4 separate regions of the Homo sapiens genome follow, and regions 1, 2 and 3 are each linked to region 4. Evidence: promoter capture Hi-C in 16 types of primary human blood cells and fetal thymus (Javierre and others, 2016). All regions are on one chromosome and are shown on one strand. Each heading gives the region's core, a stretch centred on a gene start or on the middle of the fragment in contact. The rest is flanking DNA. Distances are from core to core; before and after follow the strand shown.

The links. Contacts are between HindIII fragments. The CHiCAGO score rates a contact against its expected background, and 5 or more counts as called.
Region 1: a contact is called between a fragment that was not itself captured here and the fragment with the promoter of MYCBP2-AS2 in region 4, in 3 of 17 cell types (total B cells, naive B cells and megakaryocytes). The highest score is 9.9, in total B cells.
Region 2: a contact is called between a fragment that was not itself captured here and the fragment with the promoter of MYCBP2-AS2 in region 4, in 2 of 17 cell types (naive B cells and naive CD4 T cells). The highest score is 5.8, in naive B cells.
Region 3: a contact is called between a fragment that was not itself captured here and the fragment with the promoter of MYCBP2-AS2 in region 4, in 2 of 17 cell types (naive B cells and total B cells). The highest score is 8.0, in naive B cells.

Annotation. Positions count from the first base shown.
Region 1 is chr13:77,256,762-77,263,154 of GRCh38, forward strand. It overlaps MYCBP2 (MYC binding protein 2), which reads right to left. Exons shown (of 83, transcript NM_015057.5): 11 at 5,292-5,368; 12 at 4,410-4,614; 13 at 3,667-3,831; 14 at 910-1,068. Among named protein-coding and RNA genes, the nearest start is that of MYCBP2, 67 kb to the right of the region's middle. The HindIII fragment of the contact is 2,378 bases long and covers 3,438-5,815 here.
Region 2 is chr13:77,217,960-77,224,704 of GRCh38, forward strand. It overlaps MYCBP2 (MYC binding protein 2), which reads right to left. Exons shown (of 83, transcript NM_015057.5): 20 at 6,492-6,573. Among named protein-coding and RNA genes, the nearest start is that of MYCBP2, 110 kb to the right of the region's middle. The HindIII fragment of the contact is 3,333 bases long and covers 2,738-6,070 here.
Region 3 is chr13:77,280,975-77,287,580 of GRCh38, forward strand. All of the region lies in intron 3 of MYCBP2 (MYC binding protein 2), which reads right to left. It overlaps LOC124903184 (a long non-coding RNA gene), which reads left to right. Exons shown (of 3, transcript XR_007063827.1): 2 at 2,481-2,546. Among named protein-coding and RNA genes, the nearest start is that of MYCBP2, 43 kb to the right of the region's middle. The HindIII fragment of the contact is 4,800 bases long and covers 484-5,283 here.
Region 4 is chr13:77,079,793-77,086,294 of GRCh38, forward strand. MYCBP2-AS2 (MYCBP2 antisense RNA 2) reads right to left here and starts at 1,398. Exons shown (of 2, transcript NR_170173.1): 1 at 1,122-1,398; 2 at 719-869. It overlaps MYCBP2 (MYC binding protein 2), which reads right to left. Exons shown (of 83, transcript NM_015057.5): 63 at 3,240-3,400; 64 at 2,045-2,201; 65 at 1,635-1,859. MYCBP2-AS1 (MYCBP2 antisense RNA 1) reads left to right here. Exons shown (of 4, transcript NR_046716.1): 3 at 3,218-3,320. The HindIII fragment of the contact is 5,615 bases long and covers 1-1,546 here.

The DNA of each region.
Region 1 (6,393 bases), core at 3,377-5,876, 180 kb after region 4:
CACTTGTACACTGTTAGTGAGAATGTAAATTTAGTACAGCCACTCTGGAGAGAACAGTATGGAGCTTCCCCAAAAAACTGAAACTAGAACTCAATATGATCCAACAATCCCACTGCTATGGATATACCCAAAAGAAAGGAAATTAGTACATCAAAGAGATATCTGCACTCTCATGTTTATTGCAGCACTATTCACAATAGCCAAGATTTGGAAGCAACCTAAGTGTCCATCAACAGATGAGTGGATAAAGAAAATGTGGCATATAAACACAAGGTAGTACTATTTAACCATAAAAAACACTGAGATCCTATCATTTGCAACAACAAGGATGTAACTGGAGGATATTATGTTAAGTGAAAGAAGCCAGGCACCGAAAGACCAACTTCACATGTTGTCACTCATTTGTGGGAGCTAAAAATTAAAACAATTGAACTCATGAAGATAGAGAGTACAATGCTGGTTACTAGAGACTGGGAAGGGTAGTCAGGGAGAGTGGGTGGGAAATGGGATGGTTAGTTGGCACAAAAATATAATTAGATACAAGAGATCTACTATTTGATAGCACAACAGGGTGGCTACAGTTGGCGATAATTTTTTGTATACTTTAACAACTGAGGGAGTATAACTGGAGTGCTCATAACACAAAGAAAGGATACATGCTTGAGATGATGGAGACCCCATTTACCCTGTGATTATTATTACACATTGTAGGCCTGTATCAAAACAACTCATGTACCCCATACATATACCTACTATCTACCCATAAAATTTTTAAAAAAAATTTAAATAGGAACAAAAAGAAAAAGAAGAGCCACTCATTTTGAAAAGAACAAGACTTTTCACTATGTTGTTCTGAAAAACTAATGAAAAGACAACACAAATTTTAATATCTAAGAATTAAAGACCTACCTTTCCCACCTTGGTTCATGGCACCAGTATCTCGTCCACACTGTCCTTTATTATTTACACCAAATGTCCACACCTCTCCATTCTTCATTAAAACACAAGTGTGAGCTTTGCCCATAGCTACCTGAGTTACAAAATGGCCCTTCAAATCAGTTACCAAACCTATAGGAAAGAAACAAATTTAGTAAAAACAACAAAAAGGCCCTTCTGAGCCTAGTAAAAGAACTACCTCAATGCAGAACCGTTTATTTCTGGGGCAAAATAACTCAACAAAATGAGAAATAAGTAGCCAAAAGACTGGCAGAGTATCACTGAATTAACTTTGTAACTTTGTAACGTAGCTTCAGTGAATCCTAAAACATTATCATCCAGACTTGGGACATATCTTTACTGTAGCTTTCTCTCAAGCTTACTTCTCCTGAATGCTTCCTCCAAATGGTAATACCTCTCCACAGTACTTTCAAACTTTTCTGGTCTAAGCACAAAGGAGTCCATAAATAATTTATTTTACCTGCTTTGACCTGCCTCAGCAAAACAAAGTAAAATACTTGCCATAGTATATTGACATGAAATTGTTTATGTAGAAACCAGTGAGACTTTTCAAAACAGTATTTTTTAATCCTTTTCAACCTACAATGCTTTCTTCCACAATCCAATACACAGTTATTTTCTAAACTTCACTTATTCATGTATTACTTTCATTATATTTGTCATATCCAAGTGCCACTCATATTATCTATTTAATATGTTTTGTATCAACTCTAAATTGATTGAAGCATCTTTAACATTAACAATCAAAGATTATTATTTTTCCAATATACATTAAAATAAAAACATGTTATCAAGTATTTGTTTTATTTAAATTACAAATAGTATCAATCTCATATTATGCTTTGGGAAAACTGTTCTACATTATTAGCTCAGATATCACTACCTTAAGGTGGCCTTCACTTTCACCTTTCACTAGTTTAGGTCTTTTTGTTAATTATACCTCAAAAATTTCCACTTTTAATATTTAGCACATTTGAAAAAGGTAAGGGTGTGTGTATATATATAAAACAGTAGTTATTTATTATTATTATTAACAGTACTAGCTGACATGCTTTGAGACCTTACATGATGTGCTAAGCATTTCTTAAGTTCTACCTCCTATAATCTTCATAACAACTATATGAAGCAGGTGCTATCATTATCTATTTTTTGCAGGTAGAAAAAAACAAAAAGAAAACTCTTAAATGTTTAGTAAACTGTTACCCAGTTAAAGATTAAGTAAACTGTTACCCAATTAAAAGCGTTGGTGCCAAGGGCCATGCGCGGTGGCTCACGCCTGTATTCCCAGCACTTGAGGAGGCTGAGGCGAGTGTATCACTTGAGGTCAGGAGTTCGAGACCAGCCTGGCCAACACAGTGAAACCTCGTCTCTACTAAAAATACAAAAAATACAAAAAATTAGCTGGGTGTTGTGGCACGTGCCTATAATCTCAGCTACTTGGGAGGCTGAGGTGGGACAATCGCTGGAACCTAGGAGGCAGAGGTTGCAGTAAGCTGAGATTGTGCCACTGCACTCCAGCCTGGGAGACAGAGTGAGACTCCCTCTCAAAAAAAAAAAGTGTTGGTGCTAGGATCTCAGTCTATGTCCATAACCATTCAATACCACTTCCCCAATATTTAAGTTCTGTAATACCCAACTGTCTCTCGGATCCTCAAAAAGGCAGTATCCAGGTCTGTCAGGTCCATCAATCACTAATGTATCACCCATGCTCAATAAATATATGTTGAAGAAATATACAAGTTTCCATCAGCTCTACCCAGTGGATGTTAGCAAGCAACAATTATATTGAATATTATTTTTAAACTGTACAAGAACCCACTCCCAAATTTTGATTTACTCTGATAGCTGCAGCCAATTGAGAATCTAAATATTACAACATTAAGCCAGTTCACTTATCATCTGGGTACACCTCCACTTAATAATTAATTGCTATAAATGTTCTACAGGTGTAATTTCCCCAGCATGGGACAATTACATATATTTCTAATCATAAACTTCATTAATTCTAGTTTCCTTTTTTACAAAGAAACTCAAAGGCTTTACATATTTATCACACATAAAATCCTTCCAAGTGGGATGCTTCACTCATTATATTCATTTCTAGCTGCTAGAAAGAAAATCTAGTAACCAAATATGACAAGTTTTTGAGATTAGCATTTATAAATATAAAACCATTTAGCTAGTTCTACCCCTCATATCCACTTCTCAAACTTTTGGTTTATCAGTCACCCAGGCACTAGAAAATAATTCTTGAGACCCTACAATGTGCCAGACACTGTGCTGGGCACTGGGGATAGAATAGTAAATAAGACAGATCATCCCAGCCAAACACCCTAATGGGGGAGATAAAATACTTCAACAATTATAAACTAGCTATGTCATGAAAATCACTTCTTCAGGATACTACCACTGTCCCAGGGACATGTCCCATAAGCACCTGAGTCTAGGGAAAACATCCACAGAAGTCACAGCTACAGCGAAGCTTCCCTTGCCAAGCTCTATGATTAGCTTTGCATGAAACTAGGGACAGTGCTCCTAGTGACAAGATATGACAGAAAATTTCTCTTTCGAAATATTTCACATTTGGAAGGAAATGTAAAAAATGTAGAGAAAGCATGCCACCAACATAAATTTTCTAGATATGTCTTTGTCATACATAACTAGTATTGAAACTTCTTTGCATAAAAGTAAAACTTTTTATTAACTTACTTGAACTATCAGAGTAAATGGCATCTTTTCCAAACATGTAGAGTTCTCCATCTTTAGAAATAACAGAACTACTTCCATTATTGCAGGCTGTATATACCACAATCTTTCCTTCCATCTTAATTATCTTTTTAGGTTTATAAGGTTTGGATTGCCGTCTGCTCTTAGCTTTAAAAAAGAAATTAGATTAAATCAAGACCTCTATGTACAAATAATAATAATAATGGTTTGTATATAAAGCTAAAAAAAAAACCCATATTATTTGCATTTATGACACTATTTGTTTATTTTCACAAAGGCCTGGGCTTCCCAACATGTCATTTAAAATCAGTGAACCTGCTAGCCTCATCTGGTCAATTAATATTTACGCTATCATTGCTAGATCCTCATTCCCTGAAGTACATTCAAATTCTCAGTGAGTAATATTAGTTTTCTACCAAACTCCTGGAGGGCCCAATCTCTAAATTAGCTATTGCATTATTAATACCATTCTACTAACACATATCTAAAATCTCCTTTTTTTCCCAAGTTGTAATTCACATGTATTCTTGTTAGATCCTGGAAAGTAAAATAAGTTCCTCATTCATTCAATATGTATTTATTAAGCAGTTACATCAAGTCAATGATATATATATAAAGTTGGTGTGGTGTTATTGAAATTCATAAACTTTATCTTAATAAAGTTTTATTTTTACTAAAATAAAGCATTTATTTTTATTAAATGCATAGTTGATCACTCAACTTACTTGATTCTCCATCTTCTCCTTTACTAGCAGATCCTGTAAAGAATATGCTCCCATCTTCTGCAACTAAAAGGGCGTGAGAGCCATCGTGTCCAACTGAGAAGTGTACTATCTTTGGAGATTTTGTAATTGGTAGCTCAACCCATTTTCCTGCTGAAGGACCACCTTGTTTGATTCCAAGACTCTGGTATTTGCCAGTGTAATATATCTTATGTATTAAAAAAAAAAAGGAATTATGGTACTTTTTGGAATAGTGCATCAGGTTTCACATGAGGAAAAAAAAGGACATCAATATTTTATTGAAAAATAAAATTCACATAAAAACAAACTCTTTTTTACACTATTCAGCTTCTGGGAGTTGAGCAAGAAATACACATATTTTGCCAAGAAGACACAGTTCATAATAGCTTTTTCATATCTTTTATCCATTAAGTTTCCTGTCTTCTATAGGCACAATTCACAGCACCCTAAAATAATTACAATAGTAACATCAAAGATAACAGATCACCATAACAGATATAATAATAATAAAGAAGTCTGAAATATTTCGAGAATTACCAAAGTGTGACACAGAGACACAAAGTGAGCACAGGCGGTTAGAAAAATGATGCCAACAGACTTGCTCAACTCAGGGTTGTCACAAACCTTCAATTTGTAAAAAGAGCAATTATTTGTGAAGTGTAACAAAACTAAGCACAATAAAATGAGGCATGCCTGTACTGTTCCCTACATGAATAAAATTTTATCTTATAAAAAATAATTTTAAATCAAAATTTAAAAGATGATTCTTCTTAAACATGCAAACTATATAAACTAATCAACAGATTGTATTTTAATCTCTTAAATCAGAGAATGCTCATTTTTAATCCAAAGAGAATAATTTACCTTTCCATTTGCTGTTTTCATTAGCGCAAACTCTCGTCCTGCACCAAGAATTGCTGACTCCTCATCAAATCCTGTACCTGAAATACGAGACTAATAAATACTATTGCATTTCTAATATGAAGAATTCTAAATACAACATGCACTATTTTAAGTGATTGCAATGTCAATTCAAAATCACTAAAAAACAAGGATGACAAAATGTCATGTGCTCAAATTTTTAAAAATATTAACCATAGGTATAGTACTCCAAGGAAAGATAAAGTTATCATAATCTGTTTCTCTTGTTCCAAACCAGTACCAAATTAATTTTTTAAATATACGACAAAAAAATTTAAAAATTCAATGTCAGCAATATTCCTTGAATTAATGTATAAATGCTCAAAGTTTTATTGAGCGTTTATTAGGTACCAGGCATTATACAATTCACAAAATTTATCTCATTTGATTCTCACAACTATACCACTTGGTTTACAAATAAGCATATATAAAGGTTGGAGAGGTTAGTCCAGACACAGAGTCATTCAAGCTTGGAACAATGCCATGCAGATATTTGAATTAAAGTATTTCAGATTCTCTGCCTATGTCTTTTTCTACAGAAAGACATCTTATATAGCTACTCCATCAATTCAAATATATATATATGTAAATATGCATATACACACACAGATCCTTATGCATATTTTCAAATTGTAAAACTATGAGTAATTGTAGCTTTACATATGGTACATTTTATGACTTTGTCCAGCTATACAAACTACTAACTAGTTTATGGGCTTTAAAAATTTTAAATCTGTAATTTCAATTCAAGATTTTTCTAGGGAAGAATTATAAAAATACTACATAATTAGAATATAGAAAGTAAAGCACTAATGCCAAGTTTATGAAATGTAATGAGATAACAGTCAAAAAAGATGGATCTTGCAAAGAACCCTACAAGTTACGGAAGGTCACTATTAAACCTGGAGTGGCATGGCAAGCCAAAACTAAAACTCTCAGGAGAACTCATGATCCTAATTACTTTTACAACATTACAAAAGTAAATAATCTAAGCCCAAGAAATACTCTGTGGTTATCTGTATTTCTCTATCCAAGTGAAAGATTA
Region 2 (6,745 bases), core at 3,154-5,653, 140 kb after region 4:
AGGTTAAAAAAAAAAAAAGTAAGTCAATTTCTTACAAAACTCAACTAAAATAAAAACAATAAGTAAGCAATGCAACAAGGAGTAGGAAAGATAAAAGGCACTCATAAGAATATTCAGTAAACATTTAAGTGCTAAACGCCTATCTCCATTCCAGGTACTAGGTAAACAAAGATGAAAAAGACAGTTGCTGACTTTAAGGAGATCATCAAAAAGATCTTCTAAATGTAATTACCCTAATTATAGACACATAATAATTTCTGAAAAACTGGTGCTACATTTATTTTTAATCTGGTACTCTGTATACTGACTGGCCTGTTAGAGATCTTTATAAATAATTATTGGATGAAATAAAAATCATGTAATGCCTTAACAGAAATTCAATCCAGGAACTAGATGAAATAATTTTATGATCATCTTTTCTAACTTTTATCACTAAGCTATAAGTTTAGATCTTAGAATCACAGTTAATGAGTCAAAACACAGTATCATGAGAGGCATTAGAGCAGTGACTACAAGCTCAGGCTTTAAAGCTAGACTGGCTGGTTGTGAATCCTGGCTCCCCAACTTAATAATAATGCGACCAGACTTCGAACAAGTTTTTCATTCTTTTTGTATTTCAGTTTCCTCTTTATCACATGGAGAATACTAACAAACGGTGTCTACCCCCACAGAGTTCCTGTGAACAGTAAAGAGGCCCATACGTGTCAAGTACTTGGATCAGCGTCTGGCACACAGTTAACACTTAATGAACAGTAACTATTATGATAAATGACATCCTAGTATCCTTTCCTACTTTTAACAGCCATTTTTAGTAACCATTATCTGTAATTAGAAACACAACCATTATAGAAATAGTCCACACATAGCAGGAGAGCTCTGCTTTTGAGAAATGTAATTATGACACTTTAAATTTTAAAAATTATATAGTAGTTTGGGTAATTTATGATGAAGGCCTTAACTAGGAGCAGTGCAGAGTGAAAGAGATGGTGACTTTGATAGCTATGTAAGGAACAGAATTGATGAAACTTGGCAGATGATCGATATGGGGCAAGGAAGATTTTTTTTGCTTAAGCAACAGAGTAGATAGTGGTAATATTCACTTAAGCTATGAGAATGAATGAGATCTAGGAAGACTCTTTGAGAGAGAAAAGAAGAGATCCTAATTTCCCTTATGAGTCTCTTCTAACATTTTAGATACAGACCGAGGAAGAACAGCTCACAGACATCTAGAATAAACCACACAGAAAGAAAGAACTCAAGGAGACTCATTGGAGGAGTAGGTTTCAAGCGTGGAAAATAAAGTACATGCCAAATGCTCTAAGGAGACATACACCTAACCACTCGATTTAGCAGAAGGAGGTCTCTTTGGTGGAAGCAGGCACCACAATGCAGCAGATAAGGAGTCAGAGAATACACAAAGTAGCTCTAAGTATCCCAGCACTAAAGGGAAAAAGAAAGGAGAGCCAGCAGCTAAAGGAAAAATGAAGCTGAAGGAGAGGATTTTTTTTTTTTAATGATAAGAGATTTGAGGAAGTTTAAAAGGTGACTCAAAATAAAGACGCTAAAGACAAAGGTTAGAGAGAAGACAGGAAACAGAAATAGATCTCTAAGGAAAAGACAGCTAGGTTTCATAGCAAGGACACAACAGGTTCCTCTTTAACTGTAACATGAGGAAAGAAGCAGAGAAGTGGTATGGATGGAAGTAGGTTTGCAGGGTTGGTGGGCTGAATAATTTCTTACATCTGTTGCAATGTACATGGAGATCCTATGCTAAAAGGAGGAAACAGGTGAGTGGAGAGTTTGAAGATTCGAGAAAAGGTGTGGTGGTAGATGGAATAGATACATACCGAGAGCAGGAGTTTTCAACTCAGATATAAAGGACTTCTAGGAAGTCCATGAGTGAGCTTCAAAAGATCTCCTAAATTTGCAAGCAAATTTTTAAGTGTATATTCTTGTATTTTTCATAGAGACCCCATGTCTTTCATCAAACTCTCAAAAGGTATTAAGTCAAATAGTTCAATACTACACAACAGGAGGATTAATGACCATTGTACAGGAACTGGTTGAATCTGGAAATTAAGTATCAATCTGCATAGGTATGGTGATTTCTTACCTTCCAGAAGCCTAAGTATAGGCATAGGAAATATTAAGATTGATTCATGTTTGCGGTTTTATCATGTCCTAGCACCACGACCAAGAGAGTGGGAAAACTGAAGAAACTGGTAAGAGTATAGGTGAAGAAATTAAGCAACAGTCTTTAACTTGAGTAGGAAATAAAGTTAAAAAAAGGGTGAAAAAAGAGTAAAAAAGTAGAGGGCTGTGGGGCATAAAGTCAAAGGGAAATAAAGTAGGGCTGCATCACAGAAGAAGAAAGTATCATCAGATTATGGATATTTAAACTTGAGAAACTGAGACACAAGAAGATTAAGTAACCTGGCCAAGATCATATAGCTACCAAGTGACAGAATCAGGACCCAACCTAGAGACTGAACTCAGTCATTCTGGCAATATAACACATTAAATAAAGAGAATATCAATAACACTTTTCCATCTTCATTATCATGCATACCACAATATTGATCTTAAACAACACATTATTAATGTGTGCTATATAGTAAATTCCAGTTAACAGCTCTTGATTACTAGAGACTTTTCAAACATATTCTCCAACTGTAACCCTTTATTTCAACTATCTGTAAATGTTTTGCTTTGTTGTAGTTAATACATATGCTATAGAAGCTTTGTTCCTCCCAAGATTGTTCCTCTATAGACATAATCAACTCCTTTCTGAATTAATAACAGAGTTCTTGGTTGCTACTTTCCAAGTTCCACAAAAGTCCAGACAGACAGGGTAACTGAGTGCTTAAGACTGAAGCGGTCTTGATGAATATCTAATCCACTAGGCACAGTATATAGGTATGACTACTGCATTATCCGTTGTAGCTCTGCCCACACTTCATGTAATCAGTCTTTCAGTTACCACTCAATGGAACAAGGACCAAAACATTCCATGCTGGAAAAGAACAACTTTGGGCAGTTAAAACAAATCCCACCAGTGTTTAATCTTAAGAAATTATAGTCATATGGTTGGTAAGAAGTGAAGAGCTGAACCTTGCCTCTACAGTTCCAGGTTCGATGACTATGTAGCATCTACCAGTTACTATACCACTGTGTAGATCCTACCAATGTTTAATCTTCATAAGAAACCCTGATATTTTGTTTCAACATTAAATGCTATCGTATTTCATGAAGACGATAAATTCAAGCAATTTAAAATATTGAGCATATTGCTACAATATTATTACCTGAGGAAGTCTGGCCTGAAACTGCCCTATATCTCTTCAGACTTGGGAATCGAAGAATGGTGTTCACTGGTATAATCAGGACCACGAAGTAATGTTTTTAGGTAATCTCTTCATTTTAAAAGCTGACATGAACACCTTCCCTCTCAGCGGCCAACACACCTCAGTGTGGTGTGGAAGGATGTTGTGCTCATGCTGCTCATTCTTCTGAGTGCCAAGTGCACAGTAAGATAACATAACCTGACTATAACATGGCCATGCTTTTCACTACTTCCCTTTCCACTCTGGCAAGACCATGAAATACTATTTGCCAATTATTTTCTGTGAAGTGCCCTCTTTGCTGCATACATGACTGAGACCCCATCTTATCTAACTGCAATGCACCTTTCCCAGTTTCTATGGCTCACAAAATAACCACCAGCTAAATAACAACAACAATAGCCACGATGATACAAATAAACCCTCTTCTTCTGTGTCCCAACTCTCAAATGAGAAACAGAACAAAAAGTTGCCACGTTCTTCCCCACACAGGTTATAGTCATCCCTCAGCATCCATGGGGAATTGGTTCCAGGATCCCCTGCAGCTACCAAACTCTAGGGATGCTCAAATCCCTTATATAAATTGGCATAGTATTTGTACATAAACTACACATCCTCCTGTATACTTTAAAACATCTCTAGATTACTTATAATACCTAATACAATGTAAACACCATGTTAATAGTTGTTATACTCTGTTGTTTAGGAAATAATAACAAGACAAAAACATCTGTACATGTGCAGTACAGATGCAATTATCGTAGGCCTAACTATGTTTTCTGTCAAGATTGATTGAATCCACAGATGCAGAACCCACAGGTACAGAGGGCCAACTGTAATTACTACCCAGATTCAGCCTCTGCATTTCAGTAATGTTACTCAATTGCAAAGCAAAATATCAGTTGGCATCTAACACCTGTGACAGTAATTGCTCAACACTGTTGGTATTATGTCATATCCAGCAGACACATCTGATAAAGTAATTCTGCCAAACACATCTTTTGCTCTTTGCAAGTATGATATTAGTCATTAAATATTTATGATTGTGATAGTTTTACAAACCTCTTGATAGTAGTATCAATTTTATGTTTCAGTTGTGTTTTTAATAAGAAGTTCAACTCAATGATATCTCAATCGTCTCTTATCATTAGCAACAACATTCATAAACATAACTCAGGACATTCCCTTTTGTTGCCATTTTTTATGCAGTGCCCACAGATCTGACCCTGCCTCAGCTCGAAGGGTAGAGAGTGGTTCTCATCCTGGATACATATAGAATCTGGGGACCTTTTAGAAAAAACTCTGATGCTGGCATCCTATCAAGGACCACTCCCCACCCCTGTCCCACCCACAAGCCTTTCAACACACACATCTCTCAGAAATGCTGGATGTAGAATCCACATATGATATTTTTTCAAATTCCCTAAGTAATTCTAATATACAGCCAGGGTTAAGAATCACTAATCTTTACCATGTAAATGGCAGAATTCCATCCCTGCCACAATAGTAGAGTGAGTTCAAGACACAGTGACAACCTTGAATTTTATTTAATGACTATGTGAAGGTAAGTTCTCTTTCTTTCACTGTATGTAAAGGAGAAACCATAGAAGTCCCCTTGATTCTGGCATATACACTGTGACTGCGAGGAAGAATAAGGCAGAGTAGAAGGTCAAAAGGTAAGTTTTTGCAGCTAAGTGAATTGCTGAGTGAAGTCTGGCTTGAAGCTGCTCTCTATCTTTCCAGACTTCATAAATACTCCTGTTTCCATGGTGAGACAACCACAGACACAGACCACTCAGATCTCCTTCAAGACAATCTGCTACAGAGAGCAGAGTTAACTATTATAACAGCCTCAGGTGCTGTCCCTTTGGATGCACGAGGACATTCGTCCCCTGGGGTGCTACCAGCTGTGACTGAACATGGTGAAGGTATGAATGTTGGTCTATTCCTGCCCAATGCAGGACCCTTCCAAAGGTATCCTCAGCTTGGGGACACATCACTGGCCTGGCTAAAACTCTCTTAATGTTATGCTGGAACCTAGACTCCTACCCGATTCTTCCTTCTCTTTCTCCTTTCATAGGGTCAAAACTACATGTATCTAATAAATTCTTTGCATATCTAATCCTGTCTTGGCATCTGCTTTCTGGAAGACCTGAACTAATAAAGATGGATTTTCTATTACTTTTGACCAAAAGTATTCTGACTGCATTACGTAGAATACAAACTCGGCTGCTGTAATGAAAGACAAGTAAGAGGGACTTCAAGATACAAGTTTATTTCTCACGCAAGAAGCATGCAATTTAAGAAGCTGATGAGGCAGTTCATGGTGTCAGAGACCCAGCCTATTCCCATCTTATGATTCTGCCATTCTCAGTACACAGTCTCCAACTTATCTCTGTGATGACTTCTTTAGTTTCTGCTTCCACATATTCATTCCAGCCAGCAAGCTGGGAAGAGAGAAGGACAAATGGAAAGGTACACCCTTTCCCTTTAACAGCAAGATTCCAAAGTGGCACCTATCACTTAAGTTCACATGGCCACATCCTGCTGCAATGGAAGCTGAGAAAGGGAATCTTTAGCTGCACGATCATGTCACGAACTAAAACTAAAACTAAAACAAATGAAGTAGGGATATTAGGAAATTACCACCAGTCTCTCTACTACTATTTGCAATAAGTCAAAAGAGTTAATCAGAGAGACCAATAGGTTCTGTCCAAAAATTATTCAAAAGCTTCAATGACTGCATGTTATTAGACCAAAATTTCAAAACAGACATCAGGAATATGTTTGAATCCATTGCTGACATTTTTTAAAAATACAATTCACTATTTTTCTATTGCCATGCACAGCCTTTAAAAAGATAATTGCTAAGAATATAGTGATATTTTGTGACAATCATAATCACTCTCCTATTTAAAATATATATCAGCTTTTCTCCTGAAACTACAAAATCCTTTATCTCTACAAAAGCACTCAACCATAAGATCAGAAACCACCAATAATTCATGGGCCACACTTTGCAAAGCAGTGGTATAATATTATTTTAATTCTAGAAATATATACTTAAAAAGAGAAAAGAAAGAAAAAAGAAGGAAAAGAAAACAGAAGAAAAAATAACTCTGGATCTTCAAATGAAAAGTTAGCAAGTACCTGGAGTTGACATCTCCATGTCCTAGCTGCCCATGCTGCCCATAACCAAATGTATAGACATCTCCATTTTCCATTAAAACCACTGCAACCAAAACACACAGCTTTATTTTTTCATTATATGCATTTTACATTTCTATCACAACTATACTAAAAGCAGTGTAATTTTCACTATTTAAGATTTATAGAACCATTAAAAATAGGTAACTGAAGGACAAATTTGTATTTAATGAGAAATTAATTTTAGTTCTGAAAAA
Region 3 (6,606 bases), core at 1,634-4,133, 200 kb after region 4:
AAAGAATTTTTAATATTTAGCTATGGATTATTGCACAGAGGTAACAGACATGTTCTTAAATAAGTCTTTTTCTGCTGTTTGGCTAAGTATAAAGTATTTTACCAAAAGTTTGAACTTTGAAAGTAGACTTTAAAACAGTTTGAAGTCTTATAGTCAATGAAAACACATATTTCTCCCTCCTTCAGTATCAGGAAGGAAGAGTGTAAGGAGAAAAAATATAGTCCTGCCAATATAGTATTATTTCATTTGTGTGTAAAAAACATTTTAATGTGTACATAGAAAAAATGACAAAAGAAATAAAAATGTTTATATTGGGGTATATTTTGGTTAATGGTATTTCAAATATTACTTCCGATTTTTAATACCTCTTTAGAAAAATGTTCTGATTTTTCAAATCATCTACAATAAATATGTATAATTAGCAAAATAAATAAATGTGATATTTAATAAAAATAATAATTATAACAATAAAAGAACACAAGAAGCTTCAATACTTTCCATAACGAACTATAACTAATTACCCAACACATGCTTTCGCACTTCTCTTCAGAAAATAGTCTTTTGTAAATTTACTGAATTTTACCTTTACTGCTGCTCTCAAATAATTAAATTTTGAAGGTTATCTATCATATTTGAAAGATAAAGAAACATGAAGCCCAAATAATTACCTGATACAGCCAGTCTAATATGCTAGGAAAGTGAGATAAAAATATATTTGGCCAAAGAAAAATGATATATAAAGAGTCTTTCAAGGTTTTATTTTGCCCTTCTCAAATCATATATTTCCAAACGTGACTTTATTATTTCATGACTAAGTGTGATCATAAAAGTTTAGTTACATCACATTTGGATTTAATAATTAATTCTTTACCCTTAAAAATTGTATCTTGTTTAGTTAAAAGGTCCTAAAATCACTTCCTATACTTTTATATTTGAAAAAGCTCAAAAGGAAATCAAAATTATATTTACATATTACCATAGAGTGAAGTATACTGTCTTTTAAAATTGTTTGTATAAAGCAAATATTTGGTACAGAGATAATATCTACAAATAATAAAAAATTTAAAAATCTAGAGACAGAGAAAAAAGGAGGGGGAAGAGGCAGCAGCAGAAAGAGAGGAGGAGAAGGCTAAGATGGAGAATTCTGAATGTGAGGCCGGGTGTGGTAGCTCACACCTATAATCCCAGCACTTTGGGAGGCCAAGGTTGGGAGATCACCTGAGGTCAGGAGTTGCAAACCAGCCTAGCCAACATGGTGAAACCCCATCTCTACTAAAAATACAAAATTAGCCAGGCATGGTGGCGCATGCCTGTAATCCCAGCTACTTGGGAGGCTGAGGCAGGAGAATCACTTGAACCCAGGAGGTGGAGGCTGCAGTGAGCCAAGATCGTGCCACTGCACTTCAGCCTGGGCAAGCAGAGTGAAACTCCATCTTGAAAAAAAAAAAAAAAAGAAAGAAAGTATGAGTGTGAAGTTTCTGAGTTCCTTGCCTAACAAATTTATCTATGACTACTACCATCTTCTTCCCTTCTCTTCACACTCAGAGGAAGAGAACTTTTCAAAACTTTTCAACTTTTCAAAGCTATTTTTTCAAACAATGTTCTTGATCCCACCCCCTCCGATCTCTCACAGAAATTTGTTTCAACTTGTGCCTACATAGTGATAACTCCCAAATCTATTTTTCTAGCTGACACTTATTTTTTGAACTTCAGCCCTACATAGCACACACTGGATACTTCACATTTACCTCAGAATCAGCATGTGAACTAAACTTGATCATCATTTCAGCCAAGCACTGTTCCTCATCCAGTATTCCCTCTTTCAGTAAAGGCCCTCACCACACAAAACCTTTAAGAATATCTTTAGATTCTGCCTTCTTTTTCAGTCGTTATAGCCAATTTATTACTAATTCCTGTCAATTCTGCTTAACATTTCCTATATTCAAAACACTGTCACTACCATAATTCCAACCCTCATTAACACTCTCTAGACAACTGCAATAACTGCCTAAATGGTTCCTCTGTCTCCAGTCTCACTCACCACCCTGTAGTTATGGATATGCCTTACTAACCGGAGTACAAAGTTACTTACTAACTGGAGTACAAAGTTACTTACTTACTGGAGTACAAAGTTACTCCAGTGTTAGTAAGGCATATTCATAACTACAGGGTGGTGAGTCTGATGCAATCATGCAAGTCTGATGATATTCTTTTGCTTAAAATCTTCAATATTTACTAATTATGAGATAACATCTGAATCAATTACATGGCACATAAGGCCCTTCATGATTTAGCTTCCTGCTCTCTCTCTCTTGCTCTATCTCAGCCAGTGTTGAGTCCTTTCTCTAACGTGTTCCACTATATCTAGCACTCCCTATCAATCCTTAAGGCACTAGAGAATATTTATTGACCTGGTTCTTATCCCTACAAGACAATGCTTTCTTGAGGGCAGGAATTATGTCTCATCCTTTTGTTCTCAGGACCTAATATAATGCTGGCTACAAATTCAAAAAGAATATACTGAATTAAGAAAGAAATGATCCTAGGTAAGTCTAAATCTTTTAATAATGTGGCATGACTGGCTTCAAATGGGTTCAGATGGGAAATATGACTTCTAAGCGTTACTATTTAAAAATTATGCACCAGGCACGGTGACTCCTGCCTGTAATCCCAGTACTTTGGAAGGCTGAGGCGGTCAGACTGCTTGAGCTCAAGAGTTCGAGACCAGCCTGGGCAATCTGGCAAAACCCCATCTCTACTAAAAATACAAAAAGTATCCTGGGGTGGTGGCAAACACCTGTAGTCCCAGCTACATGGGAGGCTAATGTGGGATGATCACTTGAGCCCAGGAGGCGGAAGTTAACGGTGAGCTGAGATCACGCCACTGCACTCCAGCCCCAGTGACAGAGCCAGACCCTGTCTCAAAATGAAAATAAAAACAAAAATAATAAAAATTATGTAGCTATAAAATCTGTAAAGTTTTAGAGGATGTAGATTTTAGTGACAGTTTGAGCTGGTTAAAAAACTTAATGTAGAAGCATTCAGGGAATAGAAAGCTCGTTTAAATACATCAATGATTACTGATCCGCAAAACACAAAAACAAAAGCAAAAAGCAAAAGGGTGACAATCAAGGTCTATATAACAGTCAAACTCAATTTATTAGTAACTAAATAATAATTTAAAACTCAAGAATGGGAAAAATAAAACTGTATTACAACAACACTTCAACAACAGATTAAAAACTGTCTTAATCATGTTAAGGAAAAAAAAAAAAGAGTACAAGAAACAGAAACCTCAGGCAAGAAGGAATGGGACAGCCACACACTTAGGAGGAGCAACAGAGGAACAAAGAAAAGGAGCAAACTAGGATAATAGCAGCATTTGGGGCTGAGGCACAGAGAAGGTCAAAGGGAAAAGAAAAATGCCAACATTTCCCACTTGCCTTCAAATCCCATCACCTCAAACCTTAAGAGACTAATTTCGTCCTCAGTGTCAATCCTTCATGTCATGGAAATGGCTGCCAAAAAATATCACCTGAAAGTTTCACTCCCCACCCATAGTATCTGCTTGCCTCTGCATAGAGGCATCTCATCACTTCTTCCTCTCTTTACCTCTCATTCATCAGGTGATTGCACTGATTCTCTAGAAGTTTCATTTGCTTGCATAATTTTTTTAATAAACTGAAGAGTTCCTTGACAAGTAACTCAAATTCATTTGCACCTACACATTTTCTTGTTTGCACCTAAACTGACACTTACAACTATATATATCATTTACCGAGCACTTCTTTCTGCCAGGTACTGTTCTCTCAAGCACTCAACATCCATTAATTCATTTAAATTGTCACTACAACCCTATGAGGTAGATGCAACCCCCAATCTATAGATGACAAAACTGAGGCACGGATGTGTCAAATAACTTCCAGTGTCACATAGCTAGTAATTTTAATGGTGTTTGAACCCCAGCAGTTTGGCTCCATAACCCATGCTAACCCTGTTTGCAGACAGGTCAGTACTTGGTAGAAAATTCAGTATTAATCACTTGGGCTATCTGATCTTCTTTAATTTTCTTTGAAAGATACCCCTTTGACTCTGTTAATTATGCTGCAAAAGGTTATCTTAAGAATGCCTGATATTTCATTTAATACTCACTAATCCTGATGTTTTTAAACACCCTAGGAATCCATTGTTCTTGTTTATGCAATTTAATTTGAACTACAGTTTACTATTCAAAATCTGCATACCTGTGTAAAAAATTTACCCAGGCTTTTGTTTTCTCTCACAATATTGAACTTAAGTAGCACAATTACTATAATACAGTGTGACTCACACATACACAGAATTGGTATTCTAACTAAAAAGTAAATTATACAAGTCCTCCAGCCCTACGTCCTAACTCAACTATGTTTTTTATCTCAATCTCTCCTAGTTAAGCATAAGAAATTACAATTAGAGACCATAATTTCTATGTAGAGCAGCTCCCATATTAAAGATAAACATGTTTGTTTTAGGTTAAAGAAAGAAGCTATTGGCCAGGCACGGTGACTCACACCTGTAATCCCAGCACTTTGGGAGGCCAAGGTGGGTAGATCACCTGAGGTCCAGAGTTTGAGACCAGCTTTACCAACATGGAGAAACCCCATCTCTAATAAAAATACAAAATTAGCCAGGCGCGGTGGCACATGCCTGTAATCCCAGCTACTCAGGAGGCTGAGGCAGGAGAATTGCTTGAACCCAGGAGGCACAGGTTTCAGTAAGCCAAGATCATGCCATTGCACTCCAGCCTGGACAGCAAGAGCAAAACTCCGTGAAAGAAAGGAAAGGAAAGGGAAAGGCAAAGGAAAAGGGAAAAGGAAAGGGAAAAGAAAAAAGGAGAAAGGAAGGGAAAGGAAAGGAAAGGAAAGGAAAGGAAAGGAAAGGAAAGCAAAGGAAAGCAAAGGAAGGAAGGAAGGAGCTATTAGAGTAGGTACAGTTAGGACATTGCAGACAAAGGAAATAAGAAAAAGAAAAGGGTCCCACTCTAAAACAGGAGGCAAAAAGGACATGTGAAGATGGCTGATCAAGAAGCTGAGTAAGTTCACAAAACTTGTATTACTCTATGAAATATGAAGCAAGCCATCTGCCGAGAATAAGGTGAGAAGAACCTGACAATATGATTAAGGATGGTGGTGTACTTAGGAACAGCCACCATAAAATGTGCAAAAGAACTCAGACCAGGTTCCATTTATGCTGCTATTTCCAAGTAGTAAAAAATATTTACACAATCCCTTGTGGATATGTATAAGCTTTCAAGGCATAATTTTAAGGTATCAGTTTAGTAAAAAGGCAATAGTCATAAATCATTTATAATTATAAAATCATTTTGAATAGCTCTGTTTAGAAAAAAGCAATATGCATAAGTCATATAAAGGCACCATTTAAAAATGTCTATATTTTCACCTATTCTTTTGTTGTAAATATTAACTATATCTACTATATAGAAAAAATATATATAACAGGCTGGGTGCAGTGGCTCACGCCTGTAATCCCAGCACGTTGGGAGGCCGAGGCAGGCGGATCACGAGGTCAGGAGATCGAGACCATCCCGGCTAACACGGTGAAACCCCGTCTCTACTAAAAATACAAAAAAAAATTAGCCGGGCGCGGTGGCAGGTGCCTGTAGTCCCAGCTACTTGGGAGGCTGAGGCAGGAGAATGGCCTGAACCTGGGAGGCGGAGCTTGCAGTGAGCCGAGATGGCACCACTGCACTCCAGCCTGGGCAACAGAGCTAGACTCCGTCTCAAAAAAAAAAAAAAAAAAAAAAAAAAAAAAAAAAATATATATATATATATATATATATATATAGACCTTCCAGTCTTAAATATACCAATACTTAAACAGAACAGAGTAAACTGAGAGTAGTTCTATAATACAGGTTTTTTGTTTTGGTAAATGGAGTCTAGCTCTGTTGTCCAGGCTGGAGTGCAGTGGCGCCATCTCGGCTCACTGCAAGCTCCGCCTCCCGGGTTCACGCCATTCTCCTGCCTCAGCCTCCCGAGTAGCTGGGACTACAGGCGCCCGCCACCGTGACGGGCTAAGTTTTTTTTGTGTTTTTAGTACAGACGGGGTTTCACCGTGTTAGCCAGGATGGTCTCGATCTCCTGACCTCGTGATCCGCCCGCCTTGGCCTCCCAAAGAGCTGGGATTACAGGCGTGAGCCATTACGCCCAGCCAGTTTCTTTTTTTTTTTTTGAGACAGTCTCACTCTGTCACCCAGGCCGGAGTGCAATGGCATGATCTCGGCTCACTGCAACCTCCGCCTCCTGGGTTCAAGCAATTTTCCTGCCTCAGCCTCTGAGTAGCTGGGATTATAGGCGACTGCCACAATGCCGGGCTAATTTTTGTATTTTTAGTAGAGACAGGGTTTCACCATGTTGGCCAGGCTGTTCTCAAACTCCTGACCTCAGGTGATCCACCCGCCTTGGCCTCCCAAAGTGCTGGGATTACAGGTGTGAGAGCCACTGCGCCCGGCCTACAATACATGCTTCTATTATAGAAATACCAACTAGTTTATATGCTCCTGGTAAATAAGGGAGTAATATCAGAATAATGCAGAAGTTCAGTTGG
Region 4 (6,502 bases), core at 148-2,647:
AAGTGTCATATCTGTGTTCAAAAAGTTTCAGATTCTGTAGCATTTTGGATTTTCAGATTTGGAATGCTCAACCTATAACATAGAGGAAGCCTGTTAAAAGGAAAGTAGATGTCAGCTTACATGTTGGGAATTTTGAAAATGAATACTGTTATGATTATTTCCTCTTAGAAAAGACAGAAGTGTTAAATTGATTGCAATCATTGTTCTGAGGGAGAGTATGTCCTTGCTTAAAATGTACCATGAGCCAAAGATAGCTTTGCACTGAACAGTGAGTTCTAGCTACAAAAATGTTTTGCTTTGTTACACTTGACTTTCCAGTAAGATAAAGTAGTTACACCAGTGGAAATTCTTAGGTCTGAGGAGGAAATAGCTCATATTATATTAGCTAAGCCTCTTTTACTTACTCAATACCAGGGAGGAATAGAACCTGCACTGATGTACAGGAGTTGGAGGTTGCTCTGATTGCAGACTGGCCTGCATCCAGGTTATCTGAGACCCAATCCTACCACTGTGGCTCTTCCTGAGAAAGGAAATATGCAAATGGCACAGGAGAAGCCAGGCAATGGTTCAAGGAGAGCCATTAATACTGTATCTGCTAGCAAGCCACATCCATTCTGAGGAAAAAAATTCTAAATGAGGTAGAAGAAAGGCAGTCTGGCAGTTAGTGCTATTTCTTTCTTGGTTGTTAATACTCAAGCAAATAGGACTCTTTTTTCTTGTTTAGTGCCTTTTATAAAAGAATATTTAATTCAGTTGAAACACATGGATGAACTAGGCTGAAGAGAATATAAATTATGATTATTTGGGACAGTCTGAAACTTATTTTTTATTTCATGAGGACTGTGGCAAAGTAGACACTTGAAGATAGGCTGGGTGCAGTGGCTCATGTCTGTAATCCTAGCACTTTGGGAGGCTGAGGTGGGCAGATCACTTGAGGCCAGGGGTTTGAGACCGGCCTGGACAACATGGTGAAACCCTGTCTCTACTAAAAATACAAAAATTAGCCAAGCATGGTGGCGTGTGCTTGTAATCCCAGCTACTCAGGAGGTTGAAGCAGGAGAATCGTTTGAACCTGGAGGCGAAGGTTGCAGTGAGCCAAGATTGTGCCACTGCACTCCAGCCTGGGTGACAGAGGGAGACTCCATCTCAGAAAAAAAAAAAAAAGCTGATTACACTATAGGTCAAAGATTATTATTAAGTGCCACCAGAGTAATACAAAAAGAATCAGCAGAGGGAAAGAGTAATTTTTTAGAGGAGTTACTTAGAATTTCTCTGCTGAGTTTGAGAGACCCTGGAAGAATTGATCAGCAGAGTTTAAGGGGAGGACTTCCAGGTCACGGGAAAATCTTAACCAAGGGAATGGCAGCAGAAAATTGTAGAGCAGACTTTCATTTTGCTTAGCTGTAGCCATGGTATATTTGTAATCAGACCTCTTTTCAGAAATGGAATTCCACAGTGCTCCCAATCATATTAATTTGTTTTTAGACTTAAGATTTATTTGGGGATTATAGCAATGATGTTTGGTTGGTGAAATTCCAGGTGATAAAGCTTGTTGCTAAATTCAGAAATGAAAGTGCATGAATACTAAGATCTGAAAAGAGCTAAAGAGCCGTAAATCACGTTTGCTTTCTTACCCCAAGATCTCGGGAATTGTCCACGTGAACAGACACATAGCGGGCATTGATTCCTTTTACACAGTTGATGGTGATGTTCTTAGTTTTGTTTTTATCTTCATCTCCTGATTCCCAAAAGGTTTCTGTGGAGCCGTCTGTCAAACTGCCAATCATGGCAGGTCGGCTTGAAGTTTTTATGTCAACAATGCTGGTTAAGTCCTTTAAGCACATTACTATGCATAATTCCTATCAGAAACAAATATAAGTACTTATGATACTTAAAAGCAAATCTTTCGTGATGATAAAACAAACAGGTATAAGATAAAACATAATGGAAGACAGGATCAAATTGATTATGAATAACTTACAGTTTCTCCTTTGATGTATTATTAACTAACAGGACAACCAGGATAATAACTGAAATGACTGACCTGACTCATAGCTTCAAAGCCAGACTGTATACTGATGCTAAAACTCTCTTCACTATCGCCATCATCTGACTTTGACAAAATATTGTTAATGTGATGAAAGACGTTGCTCTGATGAAGGAACTGGTGATCAGATTGCTTGAATTTGAGACTCCAGCACCTAAAAAGGCGATATATAAGCAATATACGAAATAATTATTTTCCAGGAACATCTAAGGAACTCTTAGATGAGTACTCTGTAGCTAATATCTCAAGAAATTTTAATGTTCTAGTAACAGACATTTTAAAAATTCAGGGAAGAAAATCATTCCTATTGTTTTTGTTTTTGAGAAATAAAGGTAACTTCTTTGGAACAAGGTAAATTCTAAGGAAAGTTGACCCATTTTAAATATAAAAGAATTAGACAGATGAAGATCAAGGCTACAGAAGCAAAAAGGGTAATGAATCTATTGTGTAAACAAGTGGTACACCAACTGCAACAACCCCTCAAATTTATTACTCTTACAATGCCATACTAATTCATCAGGGTATAGTTTATCTTGTAGTTCAAAAATCTTGTGAGGAGGACAAAGAGAAATCTCTCTTCCACTGGTCTTATCATTAGTAACATGGGAAGCCCAAGCATTCCATCAATCTATTTCTTGTATACATTAATTAGGAGAATTTATTTATAAGTGTGAGTCCAGTATGTGAATCTAGTAACAAGGTTCACAGTGTAAAAGCAATGCTAAATTCTCAACACATTTCAAATTGAAATTGGAATCTGTTGAGCATCTGTGATGCTCCTTAAGGTGCTTTTAGGACTGGGTGCATACAACCAGGCTCTGTTTTCCCCAAGATTCTTTTCAAGTCAAAACTCTATTTTGGTTTTTGTTTTTGAGATTTCATTTTCCCTCTCTCTTTTTGGGACATTTAAGTGATTTGAGGTAGGAGACTGGGGAAAGTGAGGGAGATTGCTACAGTGATAATTTAGGGCACTAAGAATTACATTAGCCACATTTTACAGGAGGGCAAACAAATGTTAACTAAGAGGAAGGACCATTCTAAAAATTATGACTGTAAGGAGGGAGGCACCATCTATATAATGTAGGGATTCTATCTTACTATTTAAAGAGCTTTTTTTGGAGCATTTCATACTTTGAATATTCCATAAACTCTCTTGTCCAATGTACCTAGGATATGTGGATACCAAAATTACCTCAGGGCCATTTGCTGTAATGAACTGCCGCTGGGGAGAGACATCATAAGGTCTGAGATGGTCTGCAGCAAGCGGTGAAAGGTGTGTGGTAAAGGATGAGCAGCTTCCCCGGCAATCACTATGTCTGAGAGTGGATGTTCACATACTCTTGTATCTTTCTCCTAAGGCAGAAATTGAAACAAGTTTATCAGTTTGTGTGCTGGAAGGAATCCTCTTCACAAAAGACTATTATGTATACTTAAAAAATGGTCATGTAACAGAAATACAAACAACAAAACCAAATTGTACCCAGAAAGATACAGTAATTTTAACTAATTATGCTTGTATTATTTTAGGGAAAAAAGCTGTAAGTTTAGTCACAAGCAAAATCAGCATGCAAATGAATAAATGTATCAATTCTAGTGTACTCACAAAGATACCTGTAGGGTGAATCCACATGTGTATGCATGTGTATGTGTAGTGTGTGTGCATATATATGTATGTGTATGGATATATACACATACATATATGTAGGTATGTTTTGTGTGTATGTTTATGTATAAAAAATAACATATGTTTAGAAGTTGGGGTGGTCACTAACTCATACAGCATTTTTATGTGAATTAGAAAAAAAAGCTCCTTTCTACGCAAATGGACCACAGCTAGGAAAGAGAAGTAGGGGTTGAATTTCATTTCTCATTACAACCCTCAGATGGCTCCATTAATAATATTAACTATGGAATAACTTTTTATTATTTTGAGTAGATAACACACATCATAATAAAATATTCAAGAGGTATAAAAAAATACCATAAAAAGTCTCCCTGTCTCTACAGCCCAGCCACCTAGATGCCCTCCCACTGGCAATTTCTATTACCAGTTTCTTGGACTGTCTATAAATATTGTTCATTTACACAAATGGCAGCACTGGAAACAAACTGATCTGTGTTCTTTTAACAATAATTTATCTTTGAGATTATTACTTATTAGATATGTATGTAACATATATTATCCCACTGCATAGTATTCTGATGAATAAAAATACCATAGTTTATTTCATCAGTCCACTTCAGAACAGTCATTTAGGTTGTTTCCAATCTTTTGTTTTTATATAACATTCTGCAATGAATCAACTTGTATATCTGTCTTTTCACACATGCATATATGATAAGGAGAACTTCATAAAAGTGGAATTACTGAATGATTTTTAATGTGAATTTTGATAGATCTTACCAAACCATTCTCTAAGAAGCTGCTACTCCACAGCAAAGAATGTTTGTTCTTCCATCTTGCTACCAATGTAAGCCCATCAAACTTTTTAAACTATGTCACTGAGCTAAGTAAAAGATGGTTGCTTTTTGCCTCCTTCTTTGTGCATATATTGATTACTGATATAGAAGTTCTGGTTTATATTATCTTCTACTGATATAGAAGTTCTGGTTTATATTGTCTTCTAAAGAATGTAGTTTTGTTCTTACAGGGAGATAGCAGGCCATCTAGATTCCATCAAGGCTTGGCATTCGACTTTGTTAGACTGGGGTTATTTCAGTTTTGCCCTTGATTTTAGGCACTGCCCTTACTCCTAAGGCATGGTCTGTATTCCTTGAGTATGGTCTTTCTGGGGTTTCAAGGGCATGCCAGGAGTATTCATCACGCTCACCCCACCTCTGGTTGGACTAAAACTTCAGAACCCAGCTCTGAAGCTAAGAATCTGTTCAGTTCTCAGCTTACAATTCATTTCCACTGCTAGATCCTCCAGAGAAATTGCATGCCCAGTCTAAGAGTGGCCAGGACCCTAGGGATATTTTTATGCAAAAATTTTAGACTCCCTTTCTGCAGCTCTGTACCACTAGTGCCCTGCTTCCCACATCCCAAAGTTACAGTCCTAAACTTTGATCTCTGCCAACACAACTGACGTACTCTGCTTGGGCTCTTTTCCCAATTGTGGGGCTTACCTCATGCCCTTTTCTTCTCTCAAGGATTACAGCCCTGTACTGGTCACTCCTCAGAGCCTATGAACAATTGTTTTAAATATTTTGCCCAGCTTTTTGTTACTTACTATAAGAACTAATGCTGACACTGGCTGTTTCATCGTAACTATAACTAGAACTCTGCCAAACAACAAGTTTTGAGATGTACTATTATTGCCATTCCATTTAAAATATTTTCTGTTATAATTCTTCTTTGATGCAACTCATTTGGAAGCGTTACTTAATTTCCCTATAAATATTTTTCTTGTTATTGTTTTGTTATCTAATTCTTATATACTAGCAATAAAGACTGAGGACATGGTGGGAAGAAAACCAATTATTTCAAGTTTGTTAAAACTTGCTTTATGTGTCCAGTAAACAGTCAATTTCCATAGACATTTGTGTGTATCTGAAAAGAATGTAAACAACTATATGCAATGTTTTGTATATTCTATCAAGACTGTCAATCATTCAAATCTGTGTACTTTCTGATTCTTTTTCTCTGCCTGACCTATCCAGTACTAAAAAGAGTGTTATGGTACTATACACAAAACAGCCACAAATTCTCTGTCGCTCTTTCCATCAACAGGTGGAGTTTATTTCTCAGTCTTTGAATTTGACCGGCCTTGTGAATTATACTAGCTAATGGAAGGTGGCAGAAGCATGGCATATGAGTTTAGTGTTCGCCATTTTGGCTTTGCAGCTTCTGTGCTCTCTTTCTTGAATGCTTCTGGCATCTGAACAAACCTAGGCCAGCATTCTGGAGGATAAAAGAGCTCAGGGGGTACCACTTGAAGCACACTATGTAACCAAAACAGGAAAGAGTCATTCCTCTCAGTGGAGCCTTGCTGCAATTGCCAACCCACAGACTGTCAGCAAATAAACAACTGTTTTAGTCCAGTGAGTTCTGGGGTAGTTATGCAGGAACAGATAGCTGTTACAGGTATATGACAATCTCACATTGTAACTGTAGACTGTCCTATTTTTCCTTGCAGTCTGTCAATTGTTACTTTTTTTAAGGTTACAGTATTAGGTAGATACATATCCAGGATTGATCTTTTATCATTTTGTACATCACCATGACATATCATTACTTTTTACATAGTCAATGTTTTTTAAGATATGCCCTCATATTTACACTTTCTTTTCTCTTCATTGATACTCCATGGCCATTTCTCCCAGTTTTTATTCTGGAAATGTCTTTGGTCTTGTTCTTCAAAGACCCTTCAACTGGGTTAACAAGTATTTTCTTTCAGCACGTTGAAAAAAACCAACTGACAGCCTTTTAAACAAACTCAGTATTTTAACTTGTAA